Regions from separate parts of the Homo sapiens genome. Here region 1 is linked to region 2. The links are contacts of gene promoters, found by promoter capture Hi-C in blood cells and fetal thymus (Javierre and others, 2016). All regions are on one chromosome and are shown on one strand. Each heading gives the region's core, a stretch centred on a gene start or on the middle of the fragment in contact. The rest is flanking DNA. Distances are from core to core; before and after follow the strand shown. Region 1 has its middle 39 kb from the start of ITSN2. Region 2 holds the start of LINC01381 (long intergenic non-protein coding RNA 1381).

Region 1 (3,512 bases), core at 763-3,262, 800 kb before region 2:
GATAACACAATATTTAGGATAGGATTTATTTCTTTTTCTTTCTTTTTTTTTTCTTTTTTCCTGGGACAGGGTCTGGTTCTGTCACCCGGGCTGGAGTGCAGTGGCAGGATCTCAACTCACTACAACCTCCACCTCCCAGGCTCAAGTGATCTTCCCACCTCTCAGCTTCATGAGTAGCTGGGACTATAGGTGTGCGCCACCATGCCTAGCTAATTTTTGTATTTTTTGTAGAGACAGGTTTTCATCATGTTGTCCAGGCTGGCCTTGAATTCCTGAGCTCAGACAATCCGCATGCCTTGGCATCCCAAAGTGTTGGGATTATAGGCGTGAGCCATCGTGCCTGGCCTTGGGTTTATTTCTAATAAACAAAGGAAATGCAAACAGAGAAGGCCACACAGATGATGATAATAGTCCTTATTTTCTTTCTTTTTTTTAGTCATATGAATGTCAGATTATAACCTTATTTTCTTAATTGAGTGATAGACACACAGGTATCTATGCTTTTTTAATCTCATTTTCTGGAGTATATATTATATATATTTTATATATATAATATTTATCTTCTTAATAATAAAATTACTTTTAAGTGAAAAGAAAGGTCACCAAAATGTTATGTCTTTAAACTTACAAAGTTAGTTATCACGTTTATTTCTGACTACTCAAAAAATTGCCCTTGCAGTTTAGACAAAATGCTACCCCAGATATCACAGCCAACGAAAGTGAGCTGCAAAGGATTTAGGTCACTAGTTTTAGCCACGTATTTTCATCATGTGCTTTCACTTTTAAATAAAAGAATGTCTTTATTCTTTAAAACATTTGCTTAAGATTTTGAAGCAGATAATATTTTAAAATAGTGGCTCTTAGCTCCTGGCTGTACATTAGAATCGCTCAGAGACTTAAATAACATAAAATATTGATGTCCAACCCCCATCCCAGATTAAATGAGTCAAAATCTCTGTTGGTGGGACCTGGGTTTTGGATTTTTCTTGAAAAATTCCCCAGATTATTCTTACTTAAAGGCATAATTGGAAAGTACCATTTTAAAGCAAATTTCTAAGCCAGCATTTCTAAATGTGGTTTACTGTCTACACCACATTGTTGGTGCAAAATTCTTAAGTGAATAGGAAATAAATTTGGTAGGTTTCTAGCATTTTGAAAATACAAGTAATTGGGAATAGAAAATATCAGAGTGGTCCTGGCACCGTGGCTCACGCCTGTAATCCCAGAACTTTGTGAGGCCGCGGCAGGCAGATCACGAGGTCGAGAGATCGAGACCATCCTGGCCAACATGGTGAAACCCCATCTCTACTAAAAATACAAAAATTAGCTGGGCGTGGTGGCACATGCCTGTAGTCCCAGCTACTCGGGAGGCTGAGGCAGGAGAATTGCTTGAACCAAGGAGGTGGAGGTTGCAGTGAGCTGAGATTGTGCCACTGCACTCCAGCCTAGCGACAGAGCGAGACTCCATCTTAAAACAACAAAAAAAAAAAAAAAGAAAAAAGAAAATATCAGGGTGCATCATATTTTTATTTCTGGAGTGTGTGTATGGGAGAGGTTATGTTTAATGAGTGGTCATGGAAAATACAGGATTTCATACTGTGAGCCACAGTATGTTTGAAAAACAGTTCTAAACAAGCCTAAGGTGCTATTAGGTATTCTTTTAAAACATTTTTAATTGGCAAGTAAAAATTGTGTATATATATTTTATATATATATATAAAATGTACACCATGATGTTTTGATATATGTACACACTGTGGAATAGCTAAGTTAGGTATTTTTCCCTACTGCAAAGTTGATCAAGCAGTAATATTGATACAGGAGTTAAGAAGAAATTACTTAGGCAGATAGTGAGGGCACAGAACTCCTTGGTAAGGTTTTCCTTTTAATGAAAAGCAGCCCCAAATAATTTTCCTTTCTAACAGCAGCCTGTAAAATTGAGCTGCACACGTAGACGCTGGCAGTTATGCCAAGCATGTTAAAAATGGCGGCTCCATCTTCCCTTCTCTGACAGCCACATGCACAGGAAGAAGCAGACAAGATGGCGCTGGCCAAGGGGAAAGTTCATTTGCATAGTATGATTAGAGTGGGTCTGCCAGCCTTCTCCTTGCCCTATGTAAACATCATACCTGATCAAGCCAATCTGCGAGTGCTATGTAAATCAGACACCGCATCCTCAAGCCTGACTATAAAATCTGGCACATCCACTGCCAGCCTTTTCCTCTCCAAAGTCCTCTCTCTCTCACTAGAGAGTGAGCTGTTTTCCTTTCTCTTTCTTTCTTTTGCCTTTTAAACCTCCACTCCTAAATTCCTCATGTGCGTTTGTGTCCTAACTTCTCTTGGTGTGAGATGATGAACCCTGGGTATTTATCCCAGACACTGTAGCTGATTCAATATCATATGATGGTTGCAATGCCTGTGTCCGAATCCTGGCTTTTCCACTCACCAGCTGTATGACTTCAGGCAAATTATCTAACCTCTTTGTGTCTATTCCCTCATCCTAAAAATCTCTTATAGTGCTTGCAGAGGAGTTCAGCAAACTGCACAGTCAGAGGGCACAGTCCTTCAAAGACTGCTCTTCAAACACCAGCTGCAAGTTTGAAGGGCCCCAAGGCCACCCTCAGTACAGACCAACGGGCTACAAATTCAGAGGTGCCCATGACCACCCTCAGGTTCGGTAATTCACTAGAAAGACTCACAGAACTCAGAGAGCGATTATACTCACTGTCACATTTATTACAGGTAAAGGATACAAATTAGAACCAGCCAGAGGAAGAGAATGCGTATGTGGAAGTCTGGCAGGAATCCAAATGCAGAGCTGCTGTCATCCCCATGCTGTGTTCCCCTCCCATCAACAAAGGGGACGATACTGAGAAGGAAACTCACCCAGCTCTTATGTCCAGAATTTTTATTAGGGCTTCGTACAATAGGCACAATTGATTGAATTATTGTCCACGTGGCTGAACCCAACTGCCAGTCTCCCTCCCCTGCCTGGAAGTCAGGGTGAAGTGACGTGGCCCAAAACCCCAGTCTTTTTTTTTTTTAACTTTTAACTAAAAAGTAAACTTGAATGTCGAAAATGCAAACTTGGGGAAGACAGAAAAGATCACACGCAAGGCTGTCACTTCGCACTTGGAAGGTTGCACAGTGGCCGGGCAGAGGCGCTCCTCACTTCCCAGACGGGGTGGCGGCCGAGGAGAGACGCTCCTCACTTCCCAGACGAGAAAGCCCCAGTCTTCTAATCACTTGGTCTTCTCTCGTGGCCAGCCCCACCTTGAATCATCTTGTTAACATAAACTATCTTGTAACGGCCTTGTTACTGATAACTATCAGGTGTGGTCCAAGGTGCTTGTCATGAATAACAAAAACATTCCCACACCTGGAAAAAAAAAAAATCTCAAAGAGTTGGCCAGGTGCAGTGGCTCATGCCGGTAATCCCAGCACTTTGGGAGGCCGAGGCGGGCAGATCGCTTGAGTCCAAGAGTTTGAGACTAGCCCAGGTGACACAGCGA
Region 2 (3,343 bases), core at 438-2,937:
CCAGACCCGGAATTCCTCAAAGAAGGGCTATGGCCTTCAACTCTTCAACATATATGTTTGTATATGTATATATATGCAATTGTGGTGGTCACACAACTGTAAACATCAGTCAAAATGCACTGAGTTCAATACTTAAAATTGGGGAATGTCACTGTTTGTGAATTATGCCTCAGTAAAAAGCATGCTTTAGAGTCTCTGGGTGTCCAGGTTCACCAGGCACTTTCACATAGATTATCTCCAGCAGCCCAAACAACAGCCCCATTTCACAGATGGAGAAACTGAGGCCAGTGACTTGCCCACATCCCATAGTGGCAGACCTGGGCCCCTCCTTCAGAGCTTGTTGCTCACAGGATATGGGCCTGAGGGATTTTTTTTTTTTTTTTTTTTTTTTTGAGACAGAGTCTCGCTCTGTTGCCCAGGCTGGAGTGCAGTGGCACGATCTTGGTTCACTGCAACCTCCACCTCCCAGGTTCAAGCTATTCTTGTGCCTCAGCCTCTCCAAGTAGGTGGGATTACAGGTGTGTGCCACCATGCCTGGCTAATTTTTTGTATTAGCCAGGGTTTTGCCATGTTGGGCAGGCTGGTCTTGAACTCCTGGCCTCAAGTGAGGCCTCTCAAAGTGCTGGAAGTACAGGCGTGAGCCACTGTGCCCGGCCCGTGAGGGACTTTTGAGAGGACAGGAGCCAGCCATGGCTGGAATAATCCAATGTACAGAGTCTACCTGGTGCGGCTGTTGCTGTCTTGCCCTCGGGGAGTTCAGCCCCTGTAAGAGAGGTTCAGTGGTTCGGTTCTGCTCAGGGGGTTCCTCAGGCCAGTCTGGGAGACACTGGGTGACACTCACATTCCTGCACCCCCTAGTCCTGGCCCCAGTTCACACAGACCACTCGCTGTCATTGGGTAGGTATTAGGGTTCTGAGTCAGATGTCCTCCAAAGAAGGGGTTCTACCACAAATTGAGTTGCCAGATTTAGCAAATAAAAATACAGGCCAGGCCAGGAGTGGTGGCTCATGCCTGGAATCCCAGCACTTTGGGAGACCAAGGCAGGAGAATCACTTGAGCCCAGGAGTTCGAGACCAGCTTGGGCAAAATAGCGAGACGCCCCCCAGCTCTACAAAAAATACAAACATTAGCTGAGTGTAGTGGTGTACATCTATTCTGGAGGCTGAGGCAGGAAGATCTCTTGAGTCCAGGAGTTGGAGGCTGCAGTGAACTATGATTGTGCCACTGCACCCCAGCCTGGGCAACAAAGCAAGTCCTTGTCGCAAAAAACAAACAAACAAACAAACAAAAAACCAGGACAAAACGTTGGAGACATTCTGATACTAAATAGGACATCCTAAACAGGATAGATGTATACTAAAAATGTATCTGTTGCTTATCTGAAATTTGAATTTAACTGGACCTCCTACATTTAACCTGGCAATCCAAACTGAAAAAAAAAACCACCTAAAATTAAAATTAAATTAACAAAATTTAAATTTAATGAAATTAATAAAATTTAAAACAAAACTAAAATGAAAGAAAAAGTAAAATAAAAAAAATTTTTTAAATGAGTTAAATTAAATGAAACGAGAATAAAATCCCAAAAGAGGTGAACACTGCACAAGCGCGCACGCCTGCGCCGAGCGCCCGTGGCCCAGCAAGATGGCGAGGCCGCGCCTTCCCCACCCAGGCGTGGGGTCCTCGGGCCTCTGCGCGGCGCTCGCCCGGGACTGGGACGCAGAGCCGCGGACGGCTTTGGGGACGCCAGGGCTCCGGACTTCCCCGGCGGCGCCTCACGGGCGGCAATCGCCCGCGAGCCTTGGGGCGCGGCACCCAGGGCCTCCCCACCGGGCTCCGAGGGACGCAGCGGCCTCGCCACCGCATTAGGCCGAATCCGGTGCCTTCTAGAAATGGCCTCCTGCAGCTCCAGAGCGCCTGCAGGGTGAGCAGAGGCTGCTCTGTTTTCAAGAAAGCCGCGCGCCCTCATGGCCCCGCAGGGCCCCTCACGGCCTCTGCTGCTCTGGGGAGAAGGTAGCCGGCGCCACCGAGTCCCAGGAGGTCCCCGGACGCCCGCCCGGGCCCCGTGGGAGGGTGACGCCCGTGACAGCTCCTCTAGCTGCACTCTGCTGCCTCTGTCATTCTGCCACTCAAATCTCTGGCCTGACACTGTGCAGGCGGAAACAAGTGGGGGGCCCCTAGGTTTTCCCCCACAAATCTGAATGCTGAAAGGCGCGCCAGAGAACTTTTGCTCACTTGGGGAAAAGCCGATCTGTACCTTAGAAAGGGCAATAATAAGGATATAATATTAAATTAATAATACCTAATACAGTCATAAAGGTCCAGAACCTTATGCCCAGGCACCCCACTCCCTGGGAATGTATCCTAATGAAATAATTCAAAGGAATAACCGTGCCCTAGGCATAATCATGTTCATTATGGCATTATTAGTGTGAGCTAAAAATTGAAAACAACCTCGCCACCTAGCAAGGGAGAATGGTTAAGGGAACGGTTTTACACCCACTAGATGGAATGCCGTGTAGCCAGTAAGTGATTATTGCAAGGTCTGTAGAAACACGGGGAAATGTTTATAATGTAATCTTAATGAAAAATGGTTTAACATGAAATGGTAAATTCTCATGGATCTCAACTCCTTCAGAATTGCTTTTTCTTTTAATCGAAAATGTTATATAGATACTTGCAGATTCACATGCAGTTATAAGAAAATATAGGCCGGGCGCGGTGGCTCACGCCTGTAATCCCAACACTTTGAGAGGCCGAGGCGGGCAGATCATGAGGTCAAGAGATTGAGACCATCCTGGCCAACATGGTGAAACTCCGTCTTTACTAAAAATACAACAATTAGCCGGGCATGTGGCATGTGCCTGTAGTCCCAGCTACTCGAGAGGCTGAGGCAGGAGAATCGCTTGAACCCGGGAGGCAGAAGTTACAGTGAGCCAAGATCGGGCCGCGGCACTCCAGCCTGGTGACAGAGTGAGACTCCGTCTCAAGAAAAAAAAAAAAAAAAAGAAATGATACAGAGATCCCACCTCTACCCAGTTTTCCCCAATGGTAACATCTTGCAGAACTATAGTACAATATCACAACCAGCATATTGACAGGGATGTAACCTGCTGATCTAATGCAGATTTCCCAAATGTTACTTATACTTGTGTGTTTTGTTCTATACAGTGTTATCACAATTGTAAATTACAATTTTACTAGAGCTGGGTTTTTTTTTCTTTTTCTTTTTTTCTTTTGAGACAGAGTTTCACTCTTGTTGCCCAGGCTGGAGTGCAATGGTGCGCTCTCGGCTCACTGCAACCCCCACCTCCCGGGTTCAAGCAATTCTCCTGCCTCAGCC

What was found. The method cuts DNA at HindIII sites, captures the fragments that hold promoters and counts their contacts. A CHiCAGO score of 5 or more calls a contact.
Region 1: a contact is called between a fragment that was not itself captured here and the fragment with the promoter of LINC01381 in region 2, in 1 of 17 cell types (naive CD8 T cells). The highest score is 5.5, in naive CD8 T cells.

What each region holds. Positions count from the first base shown.
Region 1 is chr2:24,397,500-24,401,011 of GRCh38, forward strand. No RefSeq gene overlaps it. Among named protein-coding and RNA genes, the nearest start is that of ITSN2, 39 kb to the left of the region's middle. RefSeq lists enhancers at 1,961-2,255, 2,662-3,162. The HindIII fragment of the contact is 6,016 bases long and covers 1-3,512 here.
Region 2 is chr2:25,202,626-25,205,968 of GRCh38, forward strand. LINC01381 (long intergenic non-protein coding RNA 1381) reads left to right here and starts at 1,688. Exons shown (of 2, transcript NR_132378.1): 1 at 1,688-1,924. RefSeq lists a silencer at 1,686-2,025. The HindIII fragment of the contact is 10,460 bases long and covers 1-3,343 here.